Linked DNA regions of Homo sapiens: regions 2, 3 and 4 are each linked to region 1. Evidence: promoter capture Hi-C in 16 types of primary human blood cells and fetal thymus (Javierre and others, 2016). All regions are on one chromosome and are shown on one strand. Each heading gives the region's core, a stretch centred on a gene start or on the middle of the fragment in contact. The rest is flanking DNA. Distances are from core to core; before and after follow the strand shown. Region 1 holds the start of IL18BP (interleukin 18 binding protein). Region 2 overlaps CLPB (ClpB family mitochondrial disaggregase). Region 3 overlaps CLPB (ClpB family mitochondrial disaggregase). Region 4 has its middle 31 kb from the start of PHOX2A.

What was found. Contacts are between HindIII fragments. The CHiCAGO score rates a contact against its expected background, and 5 or more counts as called.
Region 2: a contact is called between a fragment that was not itself captured here and the fragment with the promoter of IL18BP in region 1, in 1 of 17 cell types (monocytes). The highest score is 5.2, in monocytes.
Region 3: a contact is called between a fragment that was not itself captured here and the fragment with the promoter of IL18BP in region 1, in 8 of 17 cell types (naive B cells, erythroblasts, naive CD8 T cells and 5 more). The highest score is 10.0, in naive B cells.
Region 4: a contact is called between a fragment that was not itself captured here and the fragment with the promoter of IL18BP in region 1, in 1 of 17 cell types (monocytes). The highest score is 5.1, in monocytes.

The regions. Positions count from the first base shown.
Region 1 is chr11:71,997,542-72,002,273 of GRCh38, reverse strand. It overlaps IL18BP (interleukin 18 binding protein), which reads right to left and starts at 3,365. Exons shown (of 6, transcript NM_001039660.2): 1 at 3,255-3,365; 2 at 2,262-2,347; 3 at 1,717-1,923; 4 at 950-1,073; 5 at 722-869; 6 at 1-490. The coding sequence starts at 2,289. The coding sequence ends at 413. RNF121 (ring finger protein 121) reads right to left here. Exons shown (of 9, transcript NM_018320.5): 9 at 4,677-4,732. The HindIII fragment of the contact is 5,155 bases long and covers 3,298-4,732 here.
Region 2 is chr11:72,394,951-72,402,484 of GRCh38, reverse strand. The region is part of intron 3 of CLPB (ClpB family mitochondrial disaggregase); the gene reads left to right. Among named protein-coding and RNA genes, the nearest start is that of CLPB, 36 kb to the left of the region's middle. The HindIII fragment of the contact is 4,933 bases long and covers 3,624-7,534 here.
Region 3 is chr11:72,416,386-72,423,355 of GRCh38, reverse strand. All of the region lies in intron 2 of CLPB (ClpB family mitochondrial disaggregase), which reads left to right. Among named protein-coding and RNA genes, the nearest start is that of CLPB, 15 kb to the left of the region's middle. RefSeq lists enhancers at 1,383-2,582, 3,265-3,951, 3,952-4,639, 4,640-5,327. The HindIII fragment of the contact is 221 bases long and covers 3,610-3,830 here.
Region 4 is chr11:72,271,343-72,278,820 of GRCh38, reverse strand. No RefSeq gene overlaps it. Among named protein-coding and RNA genes, the nearest start is that of PHOX2A, 31 kb to the right of the region's middle. The HindIII fragment of the contact is 4,255 bases long and covers 3,712-7,478 here.

The sequences.
Region 1 (4,732 bases), core at 2,116-4,615:
ATGAGCAGAGACATGGGAGTGGGAGCTGTCTGGGAAAAGCAAGAATAGTTGGGAGGCTTCCAGAAAGTCATGTGGGAAATGCAGGTAGGGCCCTGGAGTGCAAGGCTAAGGCATCAACAGTCTTGGTGGTTTCTGAGCAGTAGAGCAGTGTGAGGAGTAGGACGTTAGGAAGGCTAATGGATAGGTGGAGAGAGAATGGCAGGAGGAGGAGGCATTATAAGGAGGCTGTGATTTTCTAGGTAGGTGGGAATGGAGTTTGAATTTGGTGAGAGAAGGGACCCAAAGCAGAGAAGGAGGGGGTGTGTTGCGCATCCACGCAGCCTACAGGCAGTCAGGGACTGTTCACTCCAGGTAGACAGGTAGGACCCAAGCTCTGGTCAAGGTTGTGCTGCTGCTGGCCCTGTGCTGAGTCTTAACCCTGCTGCTGTGGACTGCTGTGGCTGGAGGGCAGGGCTTCTTGGGTGGGGGGCAAGGTTGCCCTCAGCCCAGCCTAGGGAAGTGAAGGCAGACAAGGATCAGGCCAAGGAAAGGAGGGACATCTCATCACTTTGCCCCAGGCTACACCTCCTCTGCCCAAGACCTAAGTTCCTTTTTGTCTGGCTGACCTTGAGGAATGCTGGGCATTAGTTCACAGGCTGCTCTGGCAGAGCCCACCCTTTCCTCCCCACATATGGAAGCAGAGCTCCTCCTGTTCCTGGAGGCCTCTCCTTGGGCTCCTCACCCAGAGCTGGGCCAGGACGACGTGACGCTGGACAACCTGTTCAGGGTCCACGAGCACACAGGAGAAGTTGGTGCTGTGCAGGGCAGGGGTCAGCTGCTCCAGCACCAAGGCCTTGCACAGCTGCGTACCTGTGCTCCCACGTTCCCGGCTGGAGCGGAAGGGAAGGAAAGGTCATGAGAAGGCCGCAGAAGGCCTCCTTCCCACCCACCTGGCTGCTGCGACCCTCACCTGGTGCTCCCCTCCCACAGTCGGCCTGGGAGGTGCTCAATGAAGGAACCATTGCCCAGCCAGTAGAGGATGCTGAAGTTGGGGAAGCGGCTGCAGGCCACACAGGATAAGCTCAGCGTTCCATCTAGGGACACAGGCAGCAGTTAGCTCTTCAGAAGAGCAGGCCCTTCCCCTACCCTGCTCTGCTGTGCCCTCCCTGCCAGCTCCCCCCAGTCCCCATGCATCTGGAACCTAGAGAACTGCTCTGCACACCACCTAGGTGGGAACGTCCGTTACAGAAGTGCAGTTGTCTCCGAGAGGCCCTAGCCCTAAACACGGGGAATGTGAGGAATGGTCCTTGGTTCACGTGATGAATCCTCTTCTGAACCTGTCTCCTCAGGATGACCTTTTCTAGTGCCCAGCCTCGGTGACTTGGGAGCCCAGGTGACAAAGGCAGTGCTGGATGGCTGCTGCTCCTCTGAGATGGCCAGAGGCCAGCAGGCTCTGGGTGGAGGGGCTGGCCTTGGGGTCCACTGCAACCAAGGCTCTGGGAGGTCCTGTGACCATTACTTATGTCTTGAGTTCTCTGTCCTATTTGATAGGGAGCATCTTGGGAGCTGCGCCAAGCCTGCACCCATGACACTGGGTTGGGGAGGGAGAATGGTGCGTGCTCAGCCCAGCTGGCTCAGCTGGTGGTACATGGGCAGAAGGGGACTGGCGCTCAGGAGTCAACCCGACCCTGGGAACCTCTGTGCCCATAGCCCACCCTCCACCACTGTGCTTCTTACTCAGTGGCACTTCCACCTCTGGCCAGGTCACTTCCAATGCTGGACACTGCTTAGCTGCTGGGAACACTGGGGGCTGGGAGGGGCAGGGGTCCTTTGTGCTTCTAACTGAGGCAGTGGCAGCTGTGGTGGTCTGCGAGACAGGTGTGGCTCTGACCAGGAGAGTGACGACGTGGGCACACAGGAGCAGGACCCACAAAGGGCTGAGGTCTGAGGAAAGGACAGTTACAGGTCAGCGGCTCTGGAGACAGAGTGGGCTGCCCGGGTAAGGATGTAACTCCAGCCCAGAGATGTCTGGGTTCTAGCCAGGGAATCAGAGCGGGAAGAGGGACCCCTCAGCACCCACCCCTTAGCCCTTTATTGAACAGAGTACAGAGAAGCTTTAGACTGGAGCCAGAGCTACAATATCTGCCCAGGTTCTTAAAGCAACAGCACCAGGTGCGCTGGGTGGTTTGCCTTGGAGTGAAGGCTCCGGGTTAGCCCATTGCTCCATTCTGTTCATAGACCTCACCCTACCCCGCCTGCCCATGCGTAGCCCCAAGGCCTACCTGGTGTCCAGTTGTGTCTCATGGTCATGATGCATGCGTCAGGAGCTGGTGAGCCTGGCTCTTTATCTGTGACAACGTCCTCTTCTCTGGTGAAAGGTGGGGGAGGAGAATGGTAAACCACTCCCGCTTTTTCTCAGTAGCTGGCTTTTCCTCAGTAGCTGGCTTCTCCTCCCGTAGCATAGCCTGGAGCTCTTTCAGCACTTAGAAACAGAGCTGGGGGGGTCAAGTGACAATCCTTCCCCACCCCAGCTCTCATGACCACAAATGGTTGTAAGATGCTTACCTAGTCCAATCTTACCCCTTCATTAGGGAAGGCAAAATTGAGACCCAAAGAGAGAATATGGACTCACCCAGTCACACAGGGAGGCAGTGCTCTCTTCAGCACCAGAGCTGCTTCTGGGAAGGGCAGGATGCCGAGCAATCCTTCTGGGAAAGCACTGCCCCGACCCTCTATTTCACTTTCACTTTTTAACCAGGGAATCTTGAGCAGCTGTGACACCTCTGCTTTAGCCAAAGTTCAGTGGCCAGAAACCTTCAGCTCCTGGGACTCCTACTCTCCAGAGGATACCAGACTGGGATCTCTAATCTACCCCCATGCCACCCCCAGGGTCACCTAGGGTATGAACTAGATGAGTCTCTCACAGATCAATTCTGTCCCGCCCAAGTGTCAGGACTTTGGTGTCCGCCTCCCCTCTTCACAGCCAGGTCTTTGTTTCCATATGAACAGGCATCTGCTTCCTCCTTCACCTTCACACTGACATTCAAGGGGACAACTTTCCTAGGCACTGGGGAACCCCAAGTTGGACCACTTCAGGCTCAATGCCATACCAGTCCGTCCACATCCTGGCCTTTCCCAGGCTACCCACTCCCCCAGCCACCAGCCCCAAGGTCGGCTACATCTCCCAGCACCCACCATCACACCCTCTGTCTCTCATCCTAGCCCCTCTGGCCAGAGCCACAGGTCTAGGTTCACTAGTAGTCCCAGACTCCTACCTGGCTCCTAAGAGGTCCTGAAGAGCCTTCCTTTCCAGAAGCTTCCCTCTAGGAGCTCCAAGACTCAAGTTAGCTGTGTCTAGCTGCGTGTGAACCCACCACAGGAAATACACCGAGAGCACTTCCTCCTTGTCTGTAGAACTCTCACGGCCAACCCAGGAACTGGCACACAAGCTCGAGAGCCAACCCTAACAGGAGGGAAGGGCAGGCACTTCCCGGGGAAGAGGCGGACTGGCTCAACACTGGCTCTGGCAACAGAGTCTACATCAGAATATGAATCTTGTCACTGATGGGACAAATGGCGCTGGGGCTGCGGGAGGGCCAGGATTCAGGGTGAGGCGTGTGAGGAACCTAGGATGCTAAATCTAAGGAGGTTTTCTCTCAGGGTCATGCAGTTATCCATGGAGGCAGAAAGACCAGGGCTGGGTGATCCAATGCATGCATATATTAAGTGTGGACAGGAGCTGCATGTCTGAGGTTTGTGACTCCTGTGATTGGGAGGGTGCAACGGCTGGTGACAGAGCCAGGGAGGCCCACAGATGGAACTGGGTTTGGTGGATGCATCAGGAACACAGTCAGCTGTGATCTCAAACTTCTTGTAGAAAAACCAGATTCATATTCCTAATTTAGACATAGGATACTACAAGTCACATCCTTCTTCTCTAGGTGTCTAGTTCATGTTTTTCCTCCTCTCAATTCCTCCCCCTACCTCCTGCCCCAGGGGCTTCTAGCATGTAAGATGCAGGAGAAATTCCTCCCAAGAACACCAGCATCTCCAGGAGTTAGGTCAGGAGGCAAGGCTGCCTGGGGTTTCTGAGAGAGACAGTCCAGTGGGGGATGGTAGGGAAAGATGACAGGACTCTGTCTTAGTGGAACCGAGACCAGAGTCAGGCCAAGGGGGGAGGTCAAGGGACTCAGAACTGTTACACATGAAAAGAGCTTTGGACAGCCTGGCCTCGGCTTCTCACCTGAGCCTGACAGGGGGGTGGGGGGAAAAAGTAAAAGGAAGGGTGATCCCTAGGTCCTCTGACCAGCCCCATTCCCCTCTCTGAGGAGGGGAACAGCCCCACAGGTGGCATAAGCAGCAGGGTACCATGGGAAGCCACAGCTGGGGAAGAGAAGCCGAGCCTGAGTGTGGTCCTCAGGAAGGCAGGTGGTGGCGGGACACTGTCCTCAGGCAGTGAGAACATAGAGCAACCTCAGTCTGAAGGCAGGCCCAATGATGCCCCAGGCCCCCAGGCCACAGGACAGGAGCCTGGCATTCCACCACTCCTAGGGATGTCAGCAGGGGAACAGCTGGGAACAGCAGAAAGGCAGGCCCAACCACCCCCAGACCCTCAGGTCTCCGATGGGGGTTAACAAAGGCAAGACACCCCTGGGGACCCCAGGGAAAGAGGTGGGAAGAAGAAAGCAAGATAAATGTTCAGCTTTCCAACCCAGCTCATGGAGCTTTATTCAGACGGGAGTGACAACATCCT
Region 2 (7,534 bases), core at 4,841-7,340, 400 kb before region 1:
CTATCAGGGTTGTAGCTATTGTATAAAGATTGAAATAGTTTACTTTGTGTAGTGAGTTATCTAATTCTCACAATCACTCCACAAAATATATATTATGCTCATTTTGTAGCTCAGAAAACTGAAACCCAAAGAGATAAAGTGATTTATTTATGTCACATGGACAGGATTTAGAACCTGGTCTGGCTGCCTGAAAGGTCTGTGTTTTTGGGTTTTGGGGTTTTTTTGAGATACAGTCTTGCTTGGTCACCCAGGCTGGAGTGCAGTGGTACGATCTATGGCTCGCTGCAGCCCCAGCCTCCTGGGTTCAAGCGATCCACCCACCTCACCCTCCTGAGTAGCTAGGACTACAGGTATGCACCATCACACTGGGCTAATTTTTTTTTTTTTTTTAAAGATAGGGGTCTCACTGTGCTATCCAGGTTGGTCTTGAACTCCTGGCCTCCAAGTGCTCCTGCACCCTCAGCCTACCAAAGTGTTGGGATGACAGGCGTGAGCCACTGTGCCCAGCCATGATCTGTGTTTTTTACTTTATCTCACTGCTACCTCCCGATGCCAGATACCAGCCTAGTGCTGATGCTGCCTTTCCATTTCAGTCTGTTCTGATTTCTGCCTTGGAGTCTGTATAATTCTGGAAGTGCTGGGATGAAGTACACATTTGCTCTAGCTATGATTGTGCGAAAGAATTAAGAGCAAAAAGGGATACTTTCAAAGAAAGCAGAGTGGGCACTTTAGTAACAGCCATTGAAATTGATAGTTGGAGGTACCAATTTCAGTTCTTTCTGCAAGTAGGTGTTTAAGGTGTACTGGCCACCTGTGAAAGGATTATAAATGTGAAAGAACAAATGTAACTGGGATTTTATAATCTAGAGGTGGTACTGCCTCAGACTGACTGAGAGACTTAGCTGTACATGAGATAGGTCTCTCTTCTCTGCTCCTTTGTTGTGGACTTGTTCTTAGTCACTCGGTTTCCTGATTTGCTCTCTTTAGCTCCAAGCACCTATTCTTTTTTCTTTTTTCTTTTACTATTTATTTATTTATTTTTTTGAGACGGAGTCTCACTCTGTTGCCAGGCTGGAGTGCAGTGGCGCGATCTTGGATCACTGCAACCCTCCACCTCCCAGGTTCAAGCAATTCCACTGCCTCAGCCTCCCGAGTAGCTGGGACTACAGGCGCACACCACCACACCCAGCTAATTTTTTTTGTATTTTTAGTAGAGATGGGGTTTCACCATGTTGGCCAGAATGGTATCGATCTCCTGACCTTGTGATCCACCCGCCTTGGCCTCCCAAAGTGCTGGGATTACAGGCGTGAGCCACCATGTCTGGCGCACCTATTCTTTAAAAGCAAAATTGATATAAATAGGCTTCGTAGTTGAGAGACCTAGAGTCCAGTCCTGGTTCCAAGCCTTAACTGAATTTCAGAACTCCATGGACAGCCTGTTTCTTCATCAGAAATTAATTATTTCTATGAACATTAGGTAAATATCTGCCTTGAGCCAGGCCCTGTGCTAGTGTTTGCAGAATCCGAGACCTTGGGGAGTTTGCAGTCTAATGGGGAAAACAAATGCAGGTAAGGAGACATAGTATAGTATGATCAGTGATTTCAGAGCAGTATGTATGGGATACCCTCGAAGCAAAGGGTGTGAGGGGACTCAATGTGGCAGCATAGTAGATCCTCACCATATTCTTTGGAGAATCAAATAAGGTAATGTATGTGCTACAGGTTATAAAGGTGGGTTGTTAGTCCCTGATGCCCCCATTAGATCTCTGTACACAAACACATGTGTTATTCTACACCGCTGGTACTTCACCACATGCACCAGTCTTTTCCCCCAGCTTGTAGCTGTTTCCCTCTGCAAGAAATAGCCAGTGGTGCTAAAGAAGGAGAGGTGGAGAGGTGTGTTCCCTTCTGTGTGTAGTATTTTCAAGGTTGAGACTGAATAGGAAACAACACGATGCTTAAAAATACTGTCAATTAGTGATCAGATGGCTAGTAGATATGCTTTTGGGGACACATCTCTTTGAATCTAATGAGTTGTTGGCTTAACTGATTGCTCTGTCTTTATCCAGAGCTGTTAGCAAATCAGTGATGCTTGTTGAGCAAAGTGAGAGTGTTGGCTTATATTTACTTGCTTTGGTTCCTAGGACTAATTATCCATTTTGTGACCTTCTCTTCCACTATCCAGGGAGGACAGATTTTTACTGAAAATAGCACACTCTTGGGTTGGATTTATGTATTCATATCGCAGAATTTTTTTTTGGCCCCTACTGTTTGCCAGGTACTGTTCTATGTACTTGAAATAATGTTGATGAAAAACAAAGATCCCTGCCCACATAGAGCTTATTTCTGTATTAGTTGTGGTCCTTTGGTAGAGAAAGATGTGGATAGACAATAAACAATGAGTATAATGGATGCGTAAACTATTTAATATATTAGAAGATAAGTGCCGTGGGAAAAAGGAAAAGTAGAACTTGTTAAAAAGGGAGTACCAGGAGTACATTGGTCAGGGTGAGTAGGCCTCATTGTTAAGGTGCCCTGTGAGTAGTCTTGGAGGATTAGCATATCCATACCAGCACAATCTGCCAATAAGTTTTTCCTTATTAGAAATATACTGATTTTCATATAATCAATCTCCAAATCCTTCCAGAATCATATTGGTCAGGCCTGAAATGCTACCACCTTTGAATTAGATTTCGATGAAGGGAAGATAGAGGGGGAGCACCCTTGATTCAAGGCTGAAAGCAGAGAACCTTCACCTCCTTCACCTCCTTTAGGATGTAGGCAGCCACAAGCTCAAGAGAGAGATCCTCGGAGTAGCCCAATCATTTCACCCTGATGCTGCTTAATAATATGTTAAGTCTTTAGGGATATAGAATACAATAGTCTCTGTCCTTAAGGAGCTTAATGTCTTATGAATTTCTAGGTCTGTATGTACATTTTATTTGGTTTTGAATAGGAAATAACAGTGCTATAGAACTACACTTTAAAAATATGCACAATAATTTAATTTATAATTTATTTTCTCCTTTTATTTCCAAAAAGAGTTTGAAGTGACTTAAAATACAAATATAAATATACACAGGAGAGGGAAAACTGGATCAAGATCAGAAATCATATTGGTTAAAGGAAAGATAATTGTATAAAGATTGAACCAGAGATTCTCTTTTCTGAAAATAGATTTATTGTTTTTGTAAAAATCATACATAAAATAGTAGTCACCTGAATTCCCTTTATCTGGAAATTGATTGTTATATATATGTTTATGTACAAATTTAACATGAATGGGACCATGCTGTATTTACTGTAAATTAAGTAATTAGGGAAATTGAGTATTAATTTAGATTGAAGTTTCCTGATAGGGCAAAAAAGGGATACAGAGAGTTATATCTTTATGTATTATATATATTTATGGTTTTATATATATAAAATATATATTATCATTATGTATATTCAGCAAACATATTTAAAAACTCTGTGGTGTCAGGTGCTAATGTGCTAGGCTATCAGGGATTCAGAGAATAAGCAGTCACAGCTTTTGCCTTAAGAAGCTTACTTGGACTGCCGACATCCAGGACTTGAGTAATGTGATGGCCATTGTCTTCAGTAGCCGTGCTGCCAAAGCTTTACCAACATTCTACTAGGACAATCCTTTTGCCAGCCCTAGTAACAGCTTGGGTATAGTATTGACTCAAGGAACAGTCATTGGGGTCTGGCCCCTTCTCCACAGTTAGCCCTCTATAAGCCTCATGCCACAAGGCACTTGTTTAGCCTGAGTCTGGGTGTCTCATTCTATATTGCACTCTGACCCAGTCCAGCTAAAGGCTAAGCCACAGGGTCCCAGAATGATCACTGTGACTTAGCGTAGCCTTCACCGGCTTGTGCAAATATACACAGCCTTCAGCTAAATTCAATTAGTTTTTCTTTAAGAAGGAAAAGAAATCCAATTTTACCAAACACGGACAGACGGTGGAAGGCACTTTGATGTTACAACCTCTCGGTGATGCTTTACTTAGTCACAAGTTCATAAGCAAGAAGGCTTAATTACTTGGGAAAACACAGGATTAAAACTGGACACAATGGCTGAGTATCCGCTCTCGGGCGACTTGATTCGAACCCATGCACCCAGTTCGTGTGTGGTGCAAACTTTGATGTGTTCTATGACAGGCTGAAAGTCATGACCCCCTTGGGGAAGCTCCTTCAGATGGCATTTGCAGGATGTGTAGGCGGAGAGGCAGGGCCTGCCAGGCCTGTTTGCTCAACTTTGATGTCCAAGCAGCCACAGGCCCCACTATTTGCTCTTCCACTGAGGGATGGATTGGGAGCCTCCTACCTTTCCCAGTGAACAATGGCCAGCAATGGAGTGTGACGACTGTTGACCATTCCAGAAGTCTGGTGGACCAGAACAGGGCTTTGGGAGGTGCAGAGCCTGGGGGGCCAAAAGCTGTTCATAGGACAGTCATTTCTCCAGATGTAGCTTTCCTTAAAGCTCTGGTATTGTTAGGTGCTTGCAATGGAGATAAAAATAGTCTCATGAGTTTTAGCACGGTTTAAGTACTTCTTGGCCCTCTGTTCCAGCAGCACTAAGATGTTTGTAAATTAGAAGTTTAAGTTGTTCCTAGTCCCTTAATTAGAGTATATGTGCAGAGGATAGTGGTTTAGAAGAAAAATTGTAAGACTTAGATTCTTATAATTTCTAATTCATAAAAAAGGAGCTGTAAAAACATGTATCTTATAAAGCAGTAGTACCCAGAACATATAAAGAAGTCTTACAAATCAATAATAAAAAAAATCTAATTTTTTTAAATGGGCAAAATATTTTAGCAGATGCTTCATCGAAAAAGAGATGGGTGGCAAATAAGCACATGAAAACATACTCAGTGCAAATTCAAGTCACAATGAGATACCACTACATACCTGCTACAGTAGCTAAAATTTAGGAAAACTGACAATACTAAGGGCTGACAAGGATACAGAACAATATTGATACATCACTGATAGGAATGCATAATGGTATAGCCACATTGGAAAACACTTTGGCAGTTTCTTATAAAGGTAAAGTATACATTTACCATACCACAGAGCAATAGCAACTCCTAGGTATTTGTCTAAGAGAAATAAAAATGTACGTCTGCAAAAATACCTGTATGTAAATATTTATAGCAGCTTTATTCATGACCACCAAAAACTGGATATAATGCAATGTCCATCAACTGGTGAATGGACCAACAAATTGTGGTATATCCATACGGTAAAAACAGCCAAACAAACAATGACAACAACAAAAGCACCATGCTAAGCTAAAACCAACACAAAAAGCTACCTGCTCTGTAATTCCATGTATATGACATTCTGGAGAAGACAGAACTTTAGGGGCAGAAATCAGATTGGTGGTTGCCAGTGTTTGGGAATGGGAAGAGAATATAAAGGAACTTTTTGGGATGATGGAGAAATATTCTGTATCCTGATTATCATGCTGGTTACATGAATGTATATAATTATCAAAATTCATTAAATTATATATCTTAAAAAGGATGAATTTTACTCTGTGTAAATGTGATACTTCAGTAAACTGACTTTAAACACTTTTTAAAAAGCTGTCATCCCTCTCTAATTTTCATTATTAATTGTGACCAGTGGCATACTGAGAATTTGTATTAGTAGTATCAAAATTAATTCATATTGTTAATGGTCACCTGGAATGTTTTGAATTCTTATTGTTGATGATATCTCACATTAGAGTGATATGCATTCTGATTTTTAGTAGGGAATGAAGATTTGTCAATTCATACTATCAGTGATGTAATGAAGTATAATTACTGATGAATAGTGATAAATTCACTTTATGAGTAGTGTACAGTGGACTTGTATAAATTCATAAAGTATATGATTCTTCATTCCAGCAAGGAGAAAGTTGAGGTTACAGACTGGGAGCTTGCCTCTCCCACACTATTCTTGGGTTCCTTATCTCTGGACTCTCATGCAGGGACACCACCTATATAGTGAGGCCGTTGTGGTGCTTCAGGAACCAAAGATCCTGAAAAGGGAGGCTGGTGTGGGGAGATTTTGATTTCATCCTGCTTGGGCTTGGTGGTGGCTTTTGCAAGCCTTTGCCTCGGAGAAGGTGAGAACTGCAAGGCAGAGCATGAAGCACATCAGAACTGTTTGAAATTCCCCACAAGAGTCTCCCTCCCTCCTTCTGCCTTTTCTCCCCGAGTGCATTTCATCAGTGTCGGAAGGACTGGTTCCCGGCACTGCCTTCCCTGCTTGGCCAGGGTCCCCGAGGAACTGAGCTAATGAGTGGATAACACGCATTTGCCAAGGCCTTCCTGGATGTGGTACCCGGGCTTTGTTAATTTTAAAGTGCTGCCATCCTTGGCTGAAGACCATTCAATTCCCTCTCACAGCAGTCATTTATTTTTAGCATTTGCTTATTTTCCCTCTGCCTTACTAAGGGGAGAGGGTGCATTAAACCCTTTCTTTAAAAAACCGATAGCCTAAGCCAGATTGCTGTCCTACAGAAGAGGTTTTAAAGGCCTTCCTTTGTGGACCCCAACAGCTCCATGGGTGTTCTTAGAGCGAAGAGCAGATGCTAATCTTGCAGCTAGACTACTGGCAGCCTCCCTGGGAGGCTCTGCTTCCTTCCTGGCTAGCTATACGTGGAGCAGGTAGAGTACCAGTGTACCTGTGCTTGAAAGTAGGTCCTTAGGGAACCTGACCAACCACATGGAAGTCGGTCCTGCCTTAGGGGCACAGAGCCTTTTCCGTCTTCTAACCTATTCTTGGTCTGGCTTCGTGCTGTAGAGTAGGGCTACCTTCTGCCCAAGGAGGCTGGGCTTTGTGCTGTGTGATCTCCTGACTGTAGTAATGATGATGGCAGTAGTTGATTGGGTGCTTTCTGTGTGCCAGGCCCATGTCAAGCACTTCCCATGTTGGGTCTAATCCTCAGGGCAATCTTGAAAGGAAGGGATTATTATTCCTATTTTACAGATAGGGAAAATGAAGCTCAGAGTTGTCCAAGGTTGTCCAGCTAGTAAAAGAAGGAGCCAGGATTTGAAGCTGGGTCTTTCTGAACCCCAAACCCTTGCTCTTTCCACTGGACTACACTGCCTATGGAGGGAAGGGGCCGGGAGCAAGGCCATGGGATGGACCGAAGGATGCTGGAACCAGGAGTCAAGTCGGCTCTATCAGGGTTTCTTGATGACCCATGATGTATTATATGGATTTTGAGAACTGTAAAAACAGACAAGCCACTCTCCTTGTTCTCAGAAAGCTGACACTCAGAAAAGGGATAAAAGTCCCGCTTTGGAGAATGAGGCAGAATGTGTTCAGTGCCACAGAGAAGAACACATAGAGTGCTGTGGAGGAGATGATGCTGTGTAGAGCCAGCATCATGAAAAGAGGCCCTTTCAGAGGAGTTGGGCAGGATTTGATTGGTAACATAGGGAGTAGGGGGAGAGCATTTGCAGAAGGACCATTGTGAGCATAGGCTCACAAAGGTGGAAAGCAGAGATGTGCTCGTAGAAGCAACCGGCAG
Region 3 (6,970 bases), core at 2,471-4,970, 420 kb before region 1:
TTCTGGCTTGATCATCTGTGTAGATGCTCTTGCCATTCACCGAGATGTGGATCCCTGAGGAACACTGGGTTTGGGGAAAAGATTATGAGTTCAGTTTTAAACATGCTGAATTTAACATGCCAATGGAAATGTCATTTAGGCACTAGAACCTCTGGGTCTTTCTGACTTCCCACTATACATGCCATGTTGCCTCTTAAATTATCATTTAGGAGATTCTTTTGGTGTCCTGTTTTGATTTCTGGTTTTATGGCTTTAGAAAATAAAGAACTTCATACTAGCCCAAACTGGTTTACTAGATGGCTTTGGGGAAAAAAATCTGATTTGGTTTACAGTTCAGGAAAAAAGAAAGGGTTGGGCTTTGTTGAGGGGTAAACATATTTATTCTAGCTTTGCACTGATGGCTTGGTTTGGTTCTCGTCCCTGGATGCCCCAGCTTGGGGCTTGAGGCACTTGCTGTCCATGTGCCAGGATTGAGGTGTCCAGAATGTACTTAGTTACAGCATAGGTAAATGTCCTGCACATTGATCCAGGGATTTTATCTAATTAACAAAACCCTGGCTGGTAAATACATTTGGCTGTCTCGGGGCCTCAGAGAGGCTGTCTGTTTATTGATTGTTGTATCATTTTGGCTGGATGGGAAGATATTAATGATGGCATCAGAGCAACCAAAACATCCAGCTCTCTTAATCAGGAAGTATGTAAATATCCTTGTGGCTTGCAGTGGATTGAAACACAAGCTTTATCCTAGACCAAAGGTCAAGGCCTCAAGGGCATCACTCCTGTAATTTGATACTTATAGTGAGAGCTTCTGAAGATCATCACACAGTTTTTTGAATGCTAGGGTGTACACAGGTTTTTTGAATGCCTTTCCAGAATGTTGGAAAGGCAGCATAATGTTACAGAAAGAATACAAGAGTTTTAGAATTAAAAGACCTCGTTTTACTTTTGTCATAGTTACTAACAAGCTATGTGACCATTAATAAGTCACTGACCTACCCTAAGTCTTAGCTTCCAAGTATTGTTCATGGGGTCCCCACTGAGACCTTTTAAATACAGTTCCCTAGTTTTTTTTTTTTTTTTTTTTTTTTTTGAGACGGAGTCTTGCTCTGTCACCCAGGCTGGAGTGCAGTGGCACAATCTCGACTCACTGCAAGCTCCGCCTCTCGGGTTCACGCCATTCTCCTGCCTCAGCCTCCCAAGTTGCTGGACTACAGGCGCCCGCCACCACGCCCGGCCAATTTTTTGTATTTTTAGTAGAGGTGGGGTTTCACCATGTTAGCCAAGATGGTCTCGATCTCCTGACCTCGTGATCCGCCCGCCTTGGCCTCCCAAAGTGCTGGGATTACAGGCGTGAGCCACCACGCCCGGCCAGTTTCCTAGTGTTCAGAGAAAGCTGAGTCCTTCTGGAAGGGTCCAGATCACACACTGAAACCCTAGGCTTGCTCAAGTAGACCTTGTACCTCTCAAGCAGTTCTACAGAGTGGCGTAGTGCCTGGCTTCTTTTCTGGGGTATGTGGCTTGCTGAGGCTCTGATTGCTTGTTCCCTGGTGATGGAAGGCAATTGGGAAAGGTTGGATTAGCAGCTTCTCTATAACTTCATGGGTAGGTGAGTTGTGGGAGCAGGTGGTCAACTGCCCAGAAGCCCTGCAGAGGCAGGCAGTTGGCCATGAGCAGAGAACAGCCAGGGCCTAACGCAGTGGGCCTGGAGGGAGGGGTCATGTCACTGAAAAGGAGCACAGCCAGCCCTGTGTGGCCTTGGGCTAGTCTCTCAGTTTCCTCGGGGGCCTCCACTGTAAAGTATCTTTGATGATACTTGTCTCATCACTCTCCCAGGATCTTGTGAGCATTCCAGGCAGGTGAGTCCTTGTCTGGAAAATTCCTCATCCTTCGGTCATCACTGTCACATCTTCCTGAAAGCCTTCCCTGATCCCCCAGTGATACGGCTCTGATGAGTGGAGGGACACCAGTGCTCCTGTCTCATGTCGAATTAGATAAGATGACACGGAAACACGTGGATTGGTTTTAAGGAGCAGAGAGTTTAGTAGGGAAGGAGGGGCAAGAAGGAAGGGAGAAGGAAGAAGCTCCCCTGTACAGAGACAGAGGGAGGGGGCTCCAAAGCCAAGAGAGGGAACCCCACCTGCCATGGATACCAGCCAGGTATATACAGAGGCTGGAGGAGGTGGTATCTGATTTGCATAGGACTCAAGGGATTGGTTTGACTAGGTATGTCATTCATGTACCCTGCAAAAAAGCTGGTCCTCCCACCCTAGCATTTTAATATGCAAATGCAGGGCACCATGTCCTGAGTAGCTGGGATTACAGGCATGCGCCACCACACCCGGCTAATTTTGTATTTTTAGTACATATGGGGTTTCTCCATGTTGGCCAGGCTGGTCCCGAACTCCCGACCTCTGGTGATCCGCCCGCCTTGGCCTCCCAAAGTGCTGGGATTACAGGCGTGAGCCACTGCGTTCTGCTGGGTAGACCCAGTTTTTTTAATGGCCTTCATTTGTATATCAAAGGTTGCCGACTGGCTCTAAGAACGGGGCTTTACCAGAAACTTCTGGAGATGCTTTAAAAAACGAAAATTTCCCAAGGACCTCTCCCTCTCTTATCTGCCTGAAATAGTTTCTTAATAACTCCTACAACACCAGTATCTGTGGATTCCCATAGCACCCTGTACTATATAAGTGAGAGCACTTACCACCTTCTGTTGGGATGGGTTATCTGTTTCCTTCTCTCCCTCACAACACTGTGAGTTTTGGAGGGCAGCAGACCATTGCTGTGTTGTTCATCACTGTGCATGTAAATAGTTACCAAATACTCACTGAATATTATTGAAAGTTTTTTTTTTTTTCCCCTGAGATGGAGTCTTGCTCTGTTGCCCAGGCTGGAGTGCAGTGGCACAATCTCGGCTCACTGCAACCTCTGCCTCCTGGGTTCAAGCCATTCTCCTGCCTCAGCCTCCCGAGTAGCTGGGATTACAGGCGACAGCTACTGCGCCCAGCTAATTTTTGTATTTTTAGTAGAGACGGAGTTTCACCATGTTGGCTGGTCTTGAACTCCTGACCTCTTGATCCGCCCACCTCGGCCTCCTAAAGTACTGGGATTACAGGCGTGAGCCACCATGCCCAGCCATTGAAAGCGTTTTGTGTTTTTGTTTGTTTGTTTATTTAATTGAGACAAGATCTCATCATGTTGCACAGGCTGGTCTTGAACTCCTGGGCTCAAGCAGTCCTGCCTTGGTCTCCCAAAGTGCTGGGATTACAGGTGTGAGCCACCACGCCTGGCTAAAAGTGTTTTGTAAATGATAAAAATTAAGCAAACTGTGTAGCTATTACAGTCATAATAAACCTGTAGACAGAGGACAAACAAAAATGAAGTAGTTCAATCGTTTATTCATTAAACAAATAGTGCCTACTATGTGTGGCACTGTGCTTGGTAGATCAGTAGTCAGACATGTACAGGATTTGCCTCATGGAGCTCAAAGCCTTGTCAGACGTGAATCCTACAAATGCGAAATGACAACTAGTACAAATGCTGCAAAGGAAGGACACAGAGAATCAGGAGAGCCTGTGACAGCCAGATTTCCCCTGGTCAGAGGAAGCTTGAGCTTGGAATTGAAGGATAAGGAAGAGTTTATCTAGGTGGAAAAGGTTGGGAAGAGCTCTCTAGCACAAGGAACTTTTATTTACAAGAATCCTGCATGAGGAGGAAGCAAGGCCAGTGTGAAGGACTGAAAAAGGCCAATGGTACTCCAGCTAGAGGAAGGTGCCAGGAGCCTAGAACAAGCAGACCCTACAGGGCATCAGAGGCCACATGAAGAAGCTTTGTCTTTATTTTTATGGCAGTGGCAGCTGAGATGGGTTGAGAGGGGATCAATATGATCAGTAGCCATTCTGATGGCTGAGGAACATGAGGAACTAATGTGAGTGCCTTCCTGCTTGTATGTGCCAGGCATCATCTTGGGCATGGTCCTGCCTCTTGAGGCAGTGTAGGCCACAAAGCTGTAATCGCTCAGGGCCTAACAGCAGGGGCAGTTGTCAGGCTCTGCCTCCCTACCATCATTTATGTCGCCCAAGTGCTATCTCTCCTCTAAAATCCCAGCTTAATCAAAATCATAACGCAATTCATGTCAGCACCGCCAGAACCAACTGGAATTTTTCTCCCAAGGAATTTTCCTGGAAACTGAGGAACAGAGATGAATCTAAGAATATTGAAAACAATCAAGCCAGTGTGTTACTGGGCTTCTAATATTCACTTAAGCTGCTTGCCTTGTACTTCCTGTTCTGTGTCTGCCTTTTTGAAAAAACCTCAGAAAATTTCAGTTTCTGAACTTTGAGGCTCTACTATGTCCTGCCTCCTTTGTGTTCCTCCCTTCTGAGCAAGAGCCCTAGGCCCAAAGTCCTTCTAAGGCAATCAGTCGTCCTCTCCTTGTGATTCTGTCAATGGATGCAAATACAAGTGGATTTCTTTTCTTTTCTTTTTTTTTTTTTTTTTTGGAGATGGAGTCTCACTCTGTCACCAGGGTGGAGTGCAGTGGTACGATCTCAGCTCATTACAACCTCTGACTCCTGGGTTCAAGCGATTCTCCTGGCTCAGCCTCCAGAGTAGCTGGGATTACAGGTGTGTGCCACCACACCCGGCTAATTTTTGTATTTTTAGTAGAGACAGGGTTTCGCCATGTTGGCCAGGCTGGTCTTGAACTCCTGACCTCGTGATCCTCCCGCCTCAGCCTCCCAAAGTGCTGGGATTACAGGCATGAGCCACTGCACCTGGCCTTCAAGTGGATTTCTTATCATTAGCAGGAAGCAGTGGTGAGGACTTTGGAGTCTGACAAAACAAGGCTTGAATCCTGGCTGTGACCATTGGTTAGTTCTGTGACCTTGGAAAAGTTGTCTAACATCTTTAACCTTAGATTCTTCATCTGCAAAGTAGGGATGATAATTGACCTGCCTCACACCATTGCTGTGTCATGTTTACTGATTCATCTCTTCACTTTTCTCTTCAGTTGCTTCTTATGTATTTCTCCTGACCTAGGCTGTGAGCCCTGTCACAGCAAGGTGTATGGCACCTCCTTCTCCTGCCTTCACCGTAGTAAGTCACACAAGGCTGGCTGGCACTCAGAAGACACATGGTACAGATGGAGTCTGGCCCGTTGATTGATTGGTTGATAGAAACCTTGTTTATTCTCCAAAGGCTAACCAGCAGGAGAGCACAGCCCTAGGCAGCAGCTGGGCAGGCTGACTGGTCTCCAGGATCCTCCATTCATGTGGATGGAAGGCTCAGGAAGGCTGCATAAGAATCCTCTTTGAGGCTGGGCTGAGGCTTCCATCTCAATGCCCTTTTGTTTGAAGGGATAGCACCCAGGCCTCCTGCGAAGCCTGTGTGTTTGACCAGCCTTTGCAGATGGACAGTGTACTGGGGCAGGATGTAAAGCACAAACAATTGAGGGAGGCCCCCGGAATTCCCAAGGGCTCAAGAGTCCAGCAGGGGTGGGGAGGGGCAGGATCCTTCCCAGGACACATCAGGGGCTCAGTCACAACCCCTAGATGGGTCACACAGGATCTCAGGCACTTTTGTCTCCAGCCTCATTTCCTTTCCAGTATTCAGGTCCCCACTTTAGCTTCTCTGATGGTCAACATCCAGCCCTCTTTGGGTGCCTCTAGGTATGAGGCACTCTCTGCCTCCTGAAGAATAGGCAGATTCTGACTGAATATACATTCATTCTTTTTTCTTTTGAGGTATAATTCACATACCATAAAATTCAACCTTTAAAAATATACAATTTAGTGGATTTTAGAACATTTATAAGATTGTGCAACCAGCACCACTAATTCCAGAATGTTCTATCACTCTCCCACCCCACCCCGGACCCTCAGAAAACTCTGGTTCCAATAGTAGTTACTCCCCATTCTCCTCTCCCCCTAGATGTTGCAACCACTAATCTGCTTTCTGTTTCTGGATTTGCCTGTTCTGAACATTTCATATAAATGGAATTATACAATATGTGGCCTTTTGTGTCTGGCTTCTTTCACTGAGCTTAATGTTTTCAAGGTTCATCTATGTTGTAGCATATATCAGTACTTTATTCCTTTTTGTGGCTGAATAATATTCCCTGTATGGATGTACTACATTTTATTGGATGTACATCCATACAGGATGTCATTTGTCAGTTGATGGACATTTGTGTTTCCACTTTTTAGCTATTATGAATAATGCTGCTGTGAACATTCGTGTACAGATTTCTATGTGAATGTATGTTTTCATGTCTCTTCAGTGTATACCTAGGAGTGGAATTGCTGGGCCATAGAGTAACTGTACATTTAACATTTTGAGGAACTGCCCAACCATTTTCCAGGGTGGCTTCACCATTTTACATTCCCAAAAGCAACGTGTGAGGGTTCTACCTTTTCCACATCCTCACCAACAATTGTTGTCATCAGTGTTGTCATCACTTACAGCAAACCTAGTGTGTGTGGAGTGGTATCTCATTGTGGTTTTGATTTGCATTTCCCTAATGGCTAATGATGTGAGCATCTTTTTATGTGCTTATTGGCCATTTCTGTATCTTCTTTGGCATTTATTCATTCTTTTTTCTTTTTTTTTTTTTTTTTTTTGAGACGGAGTCTTGCTCTGTCATCCAGGCTGGAATGCAGTGGCGCGATCTTGGCTCAATCCAACCTCTGCCTCCCGGGTTCAAGCGATTCTTCTGCCTCAGCCTCCCAAGTAGCTGGGATTACAGGCACGTGCCACCATGCCTGGCTAATTTTTGTATTTTTGGTAGAGACGGGGTTTCACTATGTTGGCCAGGCTTGTCTCGAACTCCTGACCTCAGGTGATCTGCCTGCCTCAGCCTCCCAAAGTGCTGAGATTACAGGTGTGAGCCACCGCACCCAGCCATTCTTTGGCATTTATTCATTCTTAAGGCCTGTTATGAGCAATTTCTTATTAGGCATTGAGGGGGAGA
Region 4 (7,478 bases), core at 4,590-7,089, 270 kb before region 1:
AATAGAATACACAGCCTAGAAGTAAATGCTTGCATATATGAACAAATGATTTTTTATATGGGTGCCAAGATTATTCAATGGGGAAAAAAACAGTCTTTTAACAATCGGTGCTGGGAAATATGGATATCCACATGCAAAAGGATAAATTTGGACCCTTATCTAACCATATACAAAAATCAACTCAAAATGGAACAAAGACCTAAATGTAAGACCTAAAAGTATAAAATTCTAAAAGAAAATATAGGGCTAATCTTTACAACTGTGAATTTGACAGTGATTTCTTGGAAATGACACCAAAGGCACAGGCAACAAAAAATAAATAAATTGGGGCTCATAAAAATTTTAAAAATCTGTGCAATGAAAGACACTATCTAGAGAGTAAAAAGGCAACCCACAGAATTGGAGAAAATATTTGCAAATTACACATATGATAAGAGATTAATATCCACACTATATAGAGAACTCATAAATCTCAACAGTGAAAAAACAAAACAACATGATTTAAAAATGGAGCCAGGCATGGTGGCTCATGCCTGTAATCCCAACACTTTGGGCGGCTGAGGTGGGTGGATCACCTGAGGTCAGGAATTGGAGACCAGCCTGACCAATATGGTGAAACCCCGTCTCTAATAAAAATACAAAAAAATTAGCTGGGCGTGGTGGCATGCGCCTGTAGTTCCAACAACTCAGGAGGCCTGGACAGGAGAATTGCTTGAACCTGGGAGGCGGAGGTTGTGGTGAGCCGAGATCGCGCCACTACACTCCAGCCTGGGCAACAGAGCGGAACTCTGTCTCAAAAAAAAAAAAAAAAAAAAATGGCAAAGAGCTGGGCGCAATGGTTCACGCCTGTAAGCCCAGCACTTTGAGAGGTGGAGGTAATCAGATTGCTTGGGACCAGGAGTTTTGAGACCAGGTTGGACAATATAGCAAAACCCCACCTCTACCAAAAATACAAAAAAATTAGCTGGGCGTGGTGGGGCATGCCTGTGGTCCCAGCTCCTTGAGAGGTTGTGGTGGAAGGATTGCTTGAGCCCGGGAGATGGAGGTTGCAGTGAACAGAGATCATGCCACCACACTCCCTCCCGGTTGACACAGTAAGACCCTGTATCAATTTTTTCAATAAAAAATAATTTAAAATGGGCAAAGGATTTGAATAAATATTTTTCCAAAGAATATATACAAATGGCCAATAAGCACAAAAACACATACTCAACATCAGTAATCATTAGGGAAATGTGAATCAAAACTACAATGAGACACCACCTCAGACCATTAGGATGTTTGCAATTTTTAAAAATCAGAAAATAACAAGTGTTGATGAGGGTTTGGAGAAGTTGGAACCCTTTTGCACTGTTGGCGGGAATGTAAAATGACACAGCCACTGTCGAAAACAATATGGAGGTTCTTAAAACAATTACATATGTAATTATCATATAATCCAGCAATTTCATTTCTGGGTATATAACCAAAAGAATTGAAAGCAGAGTCCCAAAGAGATATTGTATACCCATATTCCATAGAGCAGCGTTATTCACAATAGCTAAAACATGGAAGCAACACAAGTATCCATCAACAGATAACAGATAAGCAAAATGTAGTATATACATACAATAGAATATTATTCAGTCATAAAAAAGAAGGAAATTCTAACATATGCTACAATATGGATGAACCTTAAGGACATTATGCAAAGTGAAATAAGCCAGTCACAAAAAGACAAAGTTGGCCAGGCATAGTGGCTCACATCTGTAATCTCAGCACTTTGGGAGGCTAAGGTGAAAGCATTGCTGGGGCTCAGAAATTCAAGATCAGCCTGGGCAATATAGCAAGACCCCTTCTCTACAAAAACATGAAAAAAATTAGCTGGGTATGGTAGCACTTGCGTGTGATGCCAGCTACCGGGGAGGCTGAGGTAGAAGGGTCACTTAAGCCTGGGAGGTTGAAGTTGCAGCGAGCCATGATCACACCACTGCACTCCAGCTCATGCAACAGAGTGAAACTCTGCCTCACACACACACACATACAAATTAACAAAAAAGACAAATATTGTATGATTCTACTTATATGAAGTACACAGAATTGTTAAGATCACAGAGACAGAAGGTAGAATGGTGGTTTCCAGAGTCTGTGGAGACGAAGGAATAGGAAGCTACTGTTTCATGGGTATAGAATTTCTGTTTTTCAAGATGAAAAGAATTATGAAGATGGACGGTGGTGATGGTTGCACAAAATATGAAGTGTATTTATTTATTTTTGGAGATGGAGTTTTGCTCTTGTTGTCCAGGCTGGAGTGCAATGGCGCGATCTCAACTCACCACAACCTCCGCCTCCCAGGTTCAAGCAATTCTCCTGCCTCAGCCTCCCTAGTAGCTGGGATTACAGGCATGTGCCACTACGCCTGGCTAATTTTGTATTTTCAGCAGAGGCGGGGTTTCTCCATGTTGGTCAGGCTGGTCTCGAACTCCCGACCTCAGGTGATCTGCCCGCCTCAGCCTCCCAAAGTGCTGGGATTACAGGCATGAGCCACCATGCCCGGCCTTAAAGTGTATTTAATACTGCTGTACTATACATGTATAAATGGTTACGATGGCAAATTTTACATTATGTATATTTTTTCACAATTTTTAAATGTGGAAAAAAAGTAATTACCCATGAGGACAAAAAGAATAGAAAGAGTCAAGAGATGAGGAAAATTAATCAATTTTGAAACATAAAAAAATTGATAAAGTTGTACCAACCCAGCCTCCACCCTAACCATAAGGTAATGCTAGAGGAATTCAAAGCTGATAGCAGGCCGGGTGCGGTGGCTCACGCCTGTAATCCCAGCACTTTGGGAGGCCGAGGCGGGTTCATCACGAGGTCAGGATATCGAGACCATCCTGGCTAACATGGTGAAACCCCGTGTCTACTAAAAATACAAAAAATTAGCCAGGCGTGGTGGCGGGTGCCTATAGTCCCAGCTACTCGGGAGGCTGAGGCAGGAGAATGGTGTGAACCCAGGAGGTGGAGCTTGCAGTGAGCCGAGATCACGCCACTGCACTCCAGAGTCTGGGCAACAGAGAAAAAAAAAAAAATCTGATAGTACACTGAAGGTAACCATAGTAACAATAAAACCTAAACCCAGATCAAATCTGGACTAAATTACCTCAATTACCCACACAAACAGCCTATGAAAAGGAGAGGCATGCTCATTTCTAGGCATAAATACTATTTATTACAGTCTCTTCTGTTCTACACGTGATGTCCAACATTCAATGAAAAAATTATGAAACATAATGTGGAAAGAATAGTAAATGATGTTGGGACAACTGAATATCCACATACAAAAAAATAAACTGGACCCCTACCCCACACCATACACAAAAATTAACTTACACGGGATCAAAGACCTAAGCACAAGAGTTAAAACAATGATAAAACTCTTAGAAGAAGATATAGTTGTAATCTCTTCAAAAAAAGATGTACAAAAGGCCAATGAGTACATGAAAAGATACTCAGTATCATCAATATCATTAGTCATTAGAGAAATACAAATCAAAATGACGCGATACTACTCTCACCCACTAGGATGACTATAAGGTAAAACAAAAACAAAGTAATGAAATAACTGTTGGCAAGGATGTGGAAAAATGTGAACCCTCATTTATTGCTGGTAGGAATGTAAAATGATGCCGCCACTTTGGAAAAGAGTCTACCGGTCACTGAAAAGCTTAAACAGAGTTTCTATATGACCCAACAATTCTACTCCTAGGTTATACCTAAGAGACATGCAGATGTTCAAACAAAAAGTTCTGCATGTTTTTTCTTTTTTCTTTTGCTATTCACAATAGCCCAAAGATAGAAACAACCCTAATATGCATCAACTGATGAATGGATAAACAAAATGTGGTGTATCCATATCATTAATATTATTCAGCCATAGAAAGGATGAAGTACTGATACATGCTACGACATGGATGAACCTTGAAAACATTATACTAAGTAAAATAAGCCAGACATAAAAGGCCACATATTGTATTATTTCCTATATATGAAATGTCCAGAATATGCATATATAGAGCGACAAAAAGTAGATGAGTGGTTGCCAGGATAGGGAAAGGGAGGAATGGAGTAATTGCTTAACTGGTGTAGGATTTTCTTTCGGGTGATGAAACGTTCTGGAACCCGATAGTGGTGATAGTTGCATAACATTGTCAGTATACTAAATGCCTTTGAATTATAAACTTTAAAATGGTCAAAATTGTGACGTTTTATATTTTGTATGTTTTACCACAGTTTTTTTTTAGGATTAGGCAATGGTTTCTTAGATATGACACTAAAACCAAACAACAAGAAAAAATAAATGCAACTTCATCCAAATTGAAAAGTTTTGGCTGGGCGTGCTGGCTCACGCCTGTAATCCCAGCACTTTGGGAGGCTGAGGTGGGCAGATCACCTTAGGCCAGGAGTTTGAGACCAGCCTGGCCAACATGGTGAAACCCTGTCTCTACTAAATACAAAAAAAAAAAAAAAAATAGCTGGGAGTGGTGGCGTGTGCCTGTAATCCCAGCTACTTGGGAGGCTGAGACAGGAGAATCGCTTGTACCCAGGAGACAGAGATTGCAGTGAGCCAAGATTGTGCCATTGCACTCCAGCCTGGGCAAGAGCGAAACTCCATCTCAAAAAAAAAGAAAAAGAAAGTGAAAAGACAACCTATAGAATGGGAGAAAATCTTTGAAACTCAGATTTGATAAGAGTCTAGTATACAGAGTATATAAAGAACTCTTAAAACACAACCATAAAAAGCAAATTAACCCAATTTTAAAACAGGCAAAGGATCTAAATAGACATTTATCCAAAGAAGATACATAAAAGGTTAAAAAGCACATGAAAGATGTTCGGTGTCATTAGCTATCAGGGAAATGCAAATCAAATCCACTATACATACCCGCCAAAATGACTATAATAAAAAAGATAGGCAATAACAAGTGTTGGTGAGGATTTGGAGAAATTGAACTCTCATACACTACTGGTAGGAATGTAAAGTGAGGCAGCCACTTTGGAAAAGAGCCTAACAGTCACTCAAAAAGTTAAACATAGAGTTTCCATCTAACCCAGCAATTCTACTCCTAGCTTATACCTAAGAGACAGGAAAACATACAGCCACACAAAAACTTACACACAATGTACATAGCAACATTTTTCATAATAATTAAAAAGTGGAAACAACCCAAATGTTCATCAAACTGATGAATGGATGGATAAAATATGGTGTATCTATACATATACACAGAATATTATTCAGACATGAAAAGAATGAAGTATTGATTTACACTACAACATGAACCTTGAAATATGCAAAATGAAAGAATCCAGTTACAAAATACCACATAGTAGATGATTCTATTTATATGAAAATGTCCAGATAGGCAAATTCACAGAGACCGAAAGTAGATTAGTGGTTGCCAGGTAATGGGAAAGGGGAATCGAAATGACTGATAATGAACTTGGGGGTTTCTTTTTGGAGTGATGAAATGTTCTAGAATTACATAGTGGTGGTGGTTGCACAACTTTGTGCAATCCTTGTATTGTACACTTCAAAGGGTGAATTTTTTTTTTTTTCTTCTTGAAACAGAGTCTTGCTCTGTCACCCAGTCTGGAGTGCAGTGGCGTGATCTCAGCTCACTGCAAGCTCTGCCTGCCGGGTTCACGCCATTCTTCTGCCTCCGCCTCCCGAGTAGCTGGGACTACAGGCACCCACCACCACGCCCGGCTAATTTTTTGTATTTTTAGTAGAGACGGGGTTTCACCGTGTTAGCCAGGATGATCTGGATCTCCTGACCTCGTGATCCGCCCGCCTGGGCCTCCCAAAGTGCTGGGATTATAGGTGTGAGCCACAGCGCCTGGCCTTTTTTATTTTTATTTTTTTGAGACAGAGTCTCGCTGTGTTGCCCAGGCTGGAGTGCAGTGGTGCGATCTTGGCTCACTGTAACCTCTGCCTTCTGGGTTCAAGCAATTCTCCTGCCTCAACCTCCCGAGTAGCTGGGATTACAGGCAGGCGCCACCACAGCTTACTAATTTTTGTATTTTTAGTAGAGACAGGGTTTCACCATGTTGGCCAGGCTGGTCTGGAACTCCTGACTTCAAGTGATCCACCCGCCTCGGCCTCCCAAAGTGCTGGGATTACAGACATGAGCCACTGTGCCCCGCCTAAAGAGTGAATTTTATGATGTGAATTATATCTCAAAGTTTTATATCTCAAAAATTATGCCTCAGTTTTAAAAATAAGGAAATACATGCTTTCAAAAAAATGTTTTAATATATCAAAGTTAAATGTCAAGAGAATGAGAAAAGAAGTCACAGACTGGGAGAAAATATTTACAAAAGACATATGTGATACAGGAATATTCAAAATATATGCTTACAACTGAACAATAAGAAAACCAGATTAAACAACGGGCAAACTATCTGAAAAGACACATCACCAAAGAAGATATACAGATGACAAATAAGCATATGAAAAGATCCTCCACATCCTATGTCATTAGGGAATTGCAAATTAAAACAATGAGATACCACTATACTTTAGAATGGCTAAAATTCAAAACTCTGACCATACCAAATACTGGCAAGGAGGTGGAGCAATAGGAACTCTCATTCATTGCTGGAGGGAATGCAAAAGGATACAGTCACTTTGGAAGACAGCAGTTGTTTACAAAACCAAACATACTTTTACCATATGATCCTACAACTGAGCTCCTTTGTGTTTACTCAACTATGTTGACAACTTACGTACACCCAAAAACCTACACATGAATGTTTGTAGCAGCTTTATTCATAATTGTCAAAATTTGAAAGAAATTAAAATGTCCTTCAATAGGTAAGTGGATAAAGAAACTCTGGTACATCCAGACAGTGGAATATTATTTAATGCTAAAAAGAAATGAGCTATTAAGCCATAAAAACACATAGAGAAACTTTACATTCTTATCACTAAGTGAAAGAAGTCATTCTGAAAAGCCTATATACTGTATGATTCCAACTATATGGCATCATGGAAAAGACAGAACTATAGAGACAGTAAAAACAGAAGTGATTTCTAGGGACTTAAGTGGAGAGAGATCAATAGGTGGAGCACAGGGGATTTTTAGGGCAGTGAAATTATTCTGTATGATATTACAAGTGTGGGCATACGTTATTATACATTTGTCAAAATCTACAGAATGTAAATACAGTGAACTTTAACTATGGACTTTGGTCAATTATGATGTATGTGTCAATATTGGTGCATTGATTGTACCAAATATTCCAATCTGATGCTAATATCGATAATGAAGGCTTTGTTGGGGGGGGTTGGTACTAGGGCAGGAGAGGGGGGTATGGGAATGCTGTATACTTTCCACTCCGTTTTGCTGTGAACCTAAAGCTGCTCTAAAAAAATTGTCGATTAACTTTTAAAAGTTAAATGAACCACATTCTAATAGAGTTTCTTTTTAAAA